Regions from separate parts of the Homo sapiens genome. Here region 1 is linked to region 2. Evidence: promoter capture Hi-C in 16 types of primary human blood cells and fetal thymus (Javierre and others, 2016). All regions are on one chromosome and are shown on one strand. Each heading gives the region's core, a stretch centred on a gene start or on the middle of the fragment in contact. The rest is flanking DNA. Distances are from core to core; before and after follow the strand shown. Region 1 has its middle 15 kb from the start of RECK. Region 2 holds the start of NPR2 (natriuretic peptide receptor 2).

Region 1 (3,793 bases), core at 845-3,344, 230 kb before region 2:
TGCCCAAGGGCTTGGCTCACAGTAGGAGACTTGCGCGAGGACGTCTTCCTACCCTGCCTCTTCCTTCAGCCCTCCTGCCCTGGTCCCACATCTTCTAGGGCTTTGCTCCTCAAAGCGTGGCCTGCAGAGTTCAGCAGCATAGACATTACCTGGAAATCTGTTAGAGATGTAGAATGTCAGACCCTACCTCAGACTCACCGAATCCTTATCCACATTCTCAGATAACTCATGAAAACATTCAAGTTTGAGAAGCACCTATCTCAGGAGCTTGCAGAAATTTCAATTGTCAGCTTCAGCAATGTCCACCAGGTGGCAGGTTTGCAGCAGGCACAGGTAGCTAGAGCTGCAACCAGCCACCCAATTCTGTAAGTGGCACTGGAAGTTAGGAACAATTGCTCACGAACTGTGGAGGGAATGAATGGAGGGGCGACCCCAGAGGAGACCCCTAATCAAAGAGTGGCGGGTGGTGGGGTGCGAGCCATGAGTTCCCCCTCTCTGGCAGTCCCCAGTTGTATTGGCTAGTGACAGGGACGGGCTATACGCTCTCATTTTACAGACAAAGAAATCAAGGCCCAGAGAAGGAAGGAGACTTAGCCAAGTGCTCAGCAGCGGGAAATAGTGTTAGGGCTGGACTTGGAAGGCAGGTGTCAGGCTGCCTGGCCTGGGCTGAAAGCACTCTGTGGTCTATGCTGACCTGAGCGGCTGCCTCTCCACTCCCTCCCCTCAGATGCTCTTTGAACAGCTATCTTGTTTTCTCTGGAAGTGCTAGAAGCTGCTGTTATAATAATTCAATTCGGATGGCCAGTGGTATTTCCACATGATATAGTTTGGATACTTTCCTCACCCAAAACTCATATTGAATTGTAATCCCCAGTGCTGGAGCTGGGGCCTGGTGGGAGGTGTTTGGATCACGGGCAGATTCCTCATGGCTTGGTGCTGTCTTTGTGATAGTGAGTTCTCCCAAGATTCAGTTGTTGTAAAGTGTGGCACCTCCTGCCTGCTCTCTCTCTCTTTCTCTCTCTTTATCTTTCTCTCTCTTTCACTCACTCCTGCTTTGGCCATGTGAAGTGCCTGCTCCCACTTCACCTTCTGCCATGAGTAAAAGATCCCTGAGGCCTCCCCAGAAGTTAAGCAGATGCTGGAGCCATGTTTGTATAGTCTGCAGAACCATGAGCCAGTTAAACTTCTTTTCTTTATAAATTACCCAGTCTCAGGTATTTCTTTATAGCAGTACAAGAATGGCCTAATACACCACAATACTCAAGGTCCTGTGGCTAGAATCACTGCCTTGGAAGGTCAACTTTGAAAGGACCTCAAAGCCATGCAGTCTAAAACTAGCTTCTAGCAGGGGAGAGAAACAGCTAAGGTCCACGGAGGGGCTCCGACGGCCAGCCCCCACCCCAACCCCCACTGCCATGTCTTGTCATTAGTTCATTTGGGTTTTTTGTTTGCTTTTTTGTTGCTTTGTTTCTTTGGTTGCAATTATGCCTACTCTCATGTCAGAAAGGATTTGTGGTAACCCAAAAATGTATTCAAGGCCAAAAAATTAAAAATAGATAGGTAAGGAAATGGGGCAATGGGAAATTAAAAGTAGAAATGTGGGGGCACTTTCCCTCTAGGTCCTTTGATAGAAGCTTCCATTACTTGTGACACAACAGGGGACACTCAGTTTACTTGTTCGTCCTAGTCCCATGGTTCATGGCCTGGACCTTGGGAAAGTCCCTTCTTTCCTCTGAGTTATCATTTCCCCATGAGCACAGTGAGGTGCTTAGAGATCATATGTTCTGGCCACCTGGGATTCTGACAGTCTGTCATTCAGTTAGGGGTTTCTGAAATACCAGGTTCTTCACAGCAGCCTTCACACCCTTTTTCCTCAGGCTGTAGATGATGGTGTTCAGCATGGGGGTGACCACTCCATAGGAGAGGGAGATGAGTTTGTCTGCAAAATCCTGCTTGTCTGCCCCCAGTGGGTCCTTCGACTTGGGCTTCCCATGCGTGAAGAGGATGGTCCTGTAGAAGATGACCACAACTGTGAGGTGGGCAGAGCAGGTGGAGAAGGCCTTTTGCCTGATCATGTTGATAGAGATGTCAGCACAGGCCAACTTCAGGACAGCCAGGACCTCACAGGTCAAGTGGTTGATGATGTCCCCATAGAAGGGCAGGTGACTGATGACATTTAGTCTCTTCCCTTCCCTTAGGGCAGATGGGCCAAGAACTCCTCTGCTCTGGTGATATCAGCCAGGAGTCAGTCCCAGGTACCCTGTAACTCCAGTGCCAAGACTTTAAACTTTTACTGACCTTTAAGTAAATTTCACTTCACCAGTGAGCCTCTATGACTGGATAGCAAGGGGCCTCCTGCACGTTTTGGCCAAGTTGAAGTTCAGTTATCTCTGAACTTCCCTCCTCCTCATTCCCCATCAGCTCTCACGAAAGACACTGACTTGCTTCTGAGGCTGGTCCTGAGATTTCCCTTGCTTTTTTCAGGGAACTAAAAATCTCTCTTTCGGATTTCTAGGTGCTCACATGTGATTTATCCTGGGTCATCATAAGCTTGTTGACAATCCAGAGGTTTTGCAGTTGGCTTTATTTTACCCTGTGCTTGAAAACCATACAAACTCTGTAGAAATCCATCTCCTCCGAGCTCTGCTTTGTGATCTGACCCCTTCCCAGGTTGCTACAGGAGCACTTCCAGCAAGGAGCTGTGAGACTGTCCTGTACCTGTGCAAGCACACAGTGTCTGTGCCGTGGCCGTTTGGCTCAAGTCAAGAGATGGCTACTGAGCACACCTTCTGTGCCAGGCCTGATTCTCAGTGCTGGGTACTCAGAGATGAAAATCAAAGTTTCTACTTTAAAGAGCTCAATATTTAGGAGAAGACAGACATGCTAAAAAATCAGTGCAAGGGCTATAACAGCAACAGCAGCTGTAGAAGCAGTGGTAGGAGCTATTATCAATTGAATATAAATTTTGTACTAGGAGGCCAGATGCGGTGACTCCCCTTTGTAATCCCAGCACTTTGGGAGGCTGAGGCAGGCGGATTGCTTGAGCTCAGGAGTTCAAAACCAGCTTGGGCAACACAATGAGACCCCATCTCTACAAAATTTTTTTTTTTAGAAAATAGCTGGGTTTGGGGGCATGCACCAGTAGTCCCAGCTATAATCAAGCAGCTTAGCAGCTAAGCCTCAAAATGCATTTTATAACTCTTTTTCCTTTCCCCTTTCTTCCTCCTCCCACCCCCAGTCTCAAGATATAACTTTGAGACAGACTGCTTATGTGTTACCTTTCATCTTGAAATACAGCCTCAGAATGGGCTGTGAACCTCCACTCCCTTTCTTTTCCCATTCTGTGCTCCCATGCCTTATGCACATTTATTTACCTAGATGCTTGTTAAGCACACACCATGCTCACTTATCTGGTCATATGCTTCCTTTGATGCTTCAGAGGTCAGATCCTGATAGGGACCAGACACCTCCAGAATTCTCTGTCCAACAAAAGGTTACCTCAGGGCTGGAACCCACTCTCAGCTGAAGAGTGAACACAAGGTTGACTGTGATTAATTTATAACCTGGTAGGATCCACAATGGCACCAGCCCCTTCACCAAATGGAACAATAATTCAAGATGAGCCATCGGACTGTCATAGCACCTGGCATCTCCTAGCCCCACTTGCCTTTTCCACATTCCAAAATGCCTTCTTTAAAAACCCTTGCATTCCCAGCCAGGCACGGTGGCTCACGCCTGTAATCCCAGCACTTCGGGAGGCCGAGGCAGGCAGATCACGAGGTCAGGAGATTGA
Region 2 (3,808 bases), core at 1-2,500:
GGGGCCAGTGCGAACCAGGGTACGATAATGGTCATTCTTAGCCGAAAAACCAGAGGCCACAGCACCCGCAGTCAGCAGGGGAAGGCGCCAGTGGGAGGCAAAGCGGGCCACAGAGGCAGCAGGGTACACGCAACCGGGACCTAACAGCAGGTCGGGGTCATGGTACAGCTTGAGGTCCACAGCGCTCAGCGGTGCCAGGTACTCAGAGCAGGCGCCTTCCAGTTCGGAGCTGACAAACCGCAGGTCCACGGGCAGTGCCCGGCCCAGAGCCTCCACAGCTAGTGCCACAGCGGGTCCCACCCGTGGCCAGGCCCAGGCATAGCTCAGGTTGTGTTCTGGCAGCACCACCGCCAGCGTCAGGTTCCGCGCCCCGGGAGGACGCACCCCACCTGCCAGGGCTGCCACCAACAGCAGAAGTGATGGCAGCGCCATGGGGATAAAGCAGCAGCCCCACCGCCCCCAGAACTTGGGGCTGCTCTGGCCTACAGGGGAGACGCGAGCACCCCCCAGCCTGGAGCCTGGGGAAGAGGGCCAGGAAGAGGAGGAGTAGGCTAGGTAGGCTGGGATGCAGAAGGTGCTGGGGGCCGGGGAGAGGAGGGGGAGATGGGAGGAAGGCGGGGGGCGGGCAAGGAGTGGGCTACCAGCCTAGGGCAAGGACTGAGGACTGAGAACGGGGTGGCAGGGGGAGGGAGGGACCGAGGGGGCCTGCGGCCAGGATGGGGACAGTGCGAGGTGAAGAAGCCTGATAAATCTAAAGCTGAGAAGGAAAAGGGGATCTGGGACTGGGATGGGGTGGGGGTGGGGGGCGGGTGGTACAAAGAAACGGCCTGGGGGAACCTCACAGCTGAAAGGGCCGGGAGGGCAGGAGGGCGCTGCGCCACATAGGACCAAGGGGGTAAGGTGGGAGGGTGCCCGCGCCGCGGAAGGACTGGGATCATGGGCAGGCGGGGAGCGAAGCGAGGCCTGGGCCGGAGGGCAGGGGAAGGCAGGGGTAAATCTCCCTGTGAAGGATTCTCCCGGAGCTCCTGCTTGGACTAACGGGCCCGGGCGCTGGTCCCATCCGGAGCTACGGCGGCCCCGCCCGTGTCCCCGCTCCTCTCTGCTCCGCTTCTCCTGGGCCCTGGCGGCCGGCGCTGCCCGGCGCTTCCTCCCGCCCCCCGCCTGGGCCCCGCGCGCGCCGCTCGTCCGGGTCAGGTCGCCTCGGCCCGGCCCGTCTCCGCTCGCTGCGCCGGCGGCCGAGTGCGACTCCCCCGGGCAGGCCGCCCGCCCCCGCCCCTCCCCCGCTGCCTCTCCTCCTCCCTCCCGGCCCCACCCTCCGGCGCCGGCTGCCTTCCCCCACCCCCCACCCGGGCGCTCGGGACCGCCAGGTCCCAAACCCACCCCGGTGAGCACTTGGGGGCTCCGCACCAAGGCCTCGCCGGCCAGCAGGGTTCCCGGGCGCTCCCTCACTCTCAGGGCCTACCCTGGTCTCCCCCACGCCCCTGGTCCCCCTGCCGCCCCTCCTTCCATTTCCATCTCACACACGCCAGCGACCCCAGGGTTTGTCCTCTCCCCCTCGCTCAGCCCGTTCTTCTTGGGTCTCCCCTCTGAACTCCCTGAGTCCCTCAGTGGTTCCAGTCTCCAGGAAGCAGTCGAGGATCCCCAGACGTGTGGTATCCTCACCAGCCCCCTCACCTAGCAAACCATAGCGCCCTCCCGACGGCAGTGCGGCTTACTCCACCGCGGACCATGCCCGCTCCCTGGACGGGCCCCTCCAGCAGCCAGGGGCCCCTGCTGTACACTTCCCACCAGTCCTTAGAAAGTCCACGAGGCTCCTTCTTGCTTGGGACTCAACTCTCGGCCCCCCGCTGTCTCCATGCCCCCTGCCCTCCTCGTGTCCTCAGAGGCCCACCGCAGCCCGCCCGGCTTCCTCCGCACCATCTGCTCAGTCAGGGCCTCGATTTTCTTTTGTCTCCTGCACAGCGCAGGCTGGCGCCTGGGGAAAGCCTGTAACGGACCGGCGGGACACTCCCCGCAGTGGAAGCCCATCCACGCTCTCCTGGGGTTCCACCTTGCTCCCAGCTTCCCTTAGGAAGCTCTCCCTAGGGCCCTCATATCTGGAGTGCCAATCTGACCCCAAGAACAGCTTGTGAGGGATGATCTCATGGTGGCTGAGAGGGACTGCTATGGGACCTTGGGGATTTTTCTCCAACTGTCATAAAGGACATGCACATAAGCCCATTCTCTGCCCGCGCTAAGAGCCACGGTTTCTCTCCCCCCTTCAAGCTATTTCTCCAGAAATCACAAGCTAAGAGCGCTCCTGGAGCCCTGGAGTGGGGTGGGAGTGTATAGGGCGAGGACGGGCATGGTTTCCCTGAGATGAAGGCGACACCTAGTGGTTTGGTGGGGGAAATTAAGGACAATGCCACTTTATCCTTAGGCACGATATTTATTGAACACCGGCTGCCTAGCACAAGCTGTACCTGTGAATACAAAGAAAGCCGAATGATACAGCCCTTACCTTTGAGGAACATGCATTTGCAATCCCTGGGGCACAGAGGCCAAGAGCAGGCCGTCCCTAACAATGTTCTTGCCTCAAGCCCAGTAGAGATGGAAGCCTCAGGACAGCTCCTTCTTTAACGCAGAGGGGTTGGTAACTCTAGTTCCAGGCTCCCAATACTGCAGTGAAAAGGAATTTTGTCCTATCTGGCCAAGGCAAAAAAAAAAAAAAGGAACAGTCAAAAGAATGACGAGACAACATGAGAAATACTTTAGACCAAGTCAACCAAATAGAATAGTTGATTTTTAAGCAACTACACATTGTTTTATGAGACAAGCAAATCCAAAATGACAAAATTCCTGAAAGAATTACAGAATGGCAGGGCTAAGAGGATCATATAAATATATTGTTTAGCCCTCTCATTTAAAGATAATTGAAAACCAAATCCCAGAGAGGAAGGTCGCAGTGTCCTTACTTGCTCCTCTCCCCCAATCCCACATGGCTTTTTAGTTGCAAAAGAGAGATTAAAATGCAGGTTTCATGGTCTCCAAGGAGAGGCTCTTTATAGATATTTTGCTGACTCATGGAACTTACTGTAGAAAGCTGTGCTTACAATATAATAGCCACCAAACCCAGGCAAGTCTCTCTGGAACACCTGCAGCCCTCAGTGAGGATCAGCCACCACTGTCACCCAGACTCCTACGCAAGTACAAGTGCATCATATGTCATTATTCTGAACATTAAGGACTATTCTTCATTATGTTAGGGATTAAACATTCAAGCATCTTGCCTTTCCCTTTTCCTCCCAGTTGGCCAGTTAACTAGAAAGTAGGAAGGGGCCAGGCACGGTGGCTCTTGCCTGTAATGCCTATAATCTCTATTAAAAACCAAACAAATCAATCAGATATGGTGGCACGAACCTGTGGTCCCAGCTACTTGGGAGGCTGAGGTGGGGGGATCGCTTGATCCCAGAGGATAGAGGCAGCCTGGGTGACAGCAAGACCCTGTCTCAAAAAAAAAAAAAAAAAAAAAGGAAGTGGAAGGAGCCTGGTGCAGTGGCTCACGCCTGTAATCCCAGCACTTTAGGAGGCCAAGGTAGGAGGATTGTTTGAGGTCAGGAGTTCGAGACTAGGCTGGCCAACAAGGTGAAATCTCGTCTCTACTAAAAACACAAAAATTAGCTGGGCGTGGTGGTGGGCACCTGTAATCCCAGCTACTTGGGAGGCTGGGGCAGGAAAACCGCTTGAATCTGGGAGGCGGACATTGCAGTGAGCAGAGATCGCGCCACTGTGCGACAGAGCAAGACTCCATCTCAAAAGAAAAAAGAAA

Evidence for each region. Contacts are between HindIII fragments. The CHiCAGO score rates a contact against its expected background, and 5 or more counts as called.
Region 1: a fragment that was not itself captured here is called in contact with the fragment with the promoter of NPR2 in region 2 in 1 of 17 cell types (activated CD4 T cells); the score reaches 5.0 in activated CD4 T cells.

The regions. Positions count from the first base shown.
Region 1 is chr9:36,020,137-36,023,929 of GRCh38, reverse strand. It overlaps the pseudogene OR2AM1P. Among named protein-coding and RNA genes, the nearest start is that of RECK, 15 kb to the left of the region's middle. The HindIII fragment of the contact is 916 bases long and covers 1,637-2,552 here.
Region 2 is chr9:35,789,033-35,792,840 of GRCh38, reverse strand. NPR2 (natriuretic peptide receptor 2) reads right to left here and starts at 1,250. Exons shown (of 22, transcript NM_003995.4): 1 at 1-1,250. The coding sequence starts at 432. It also overlaps a transcript of RGP1 not described here. The HindIII fragment of the contact is 14,834 bases long and covers 1-3,808 here.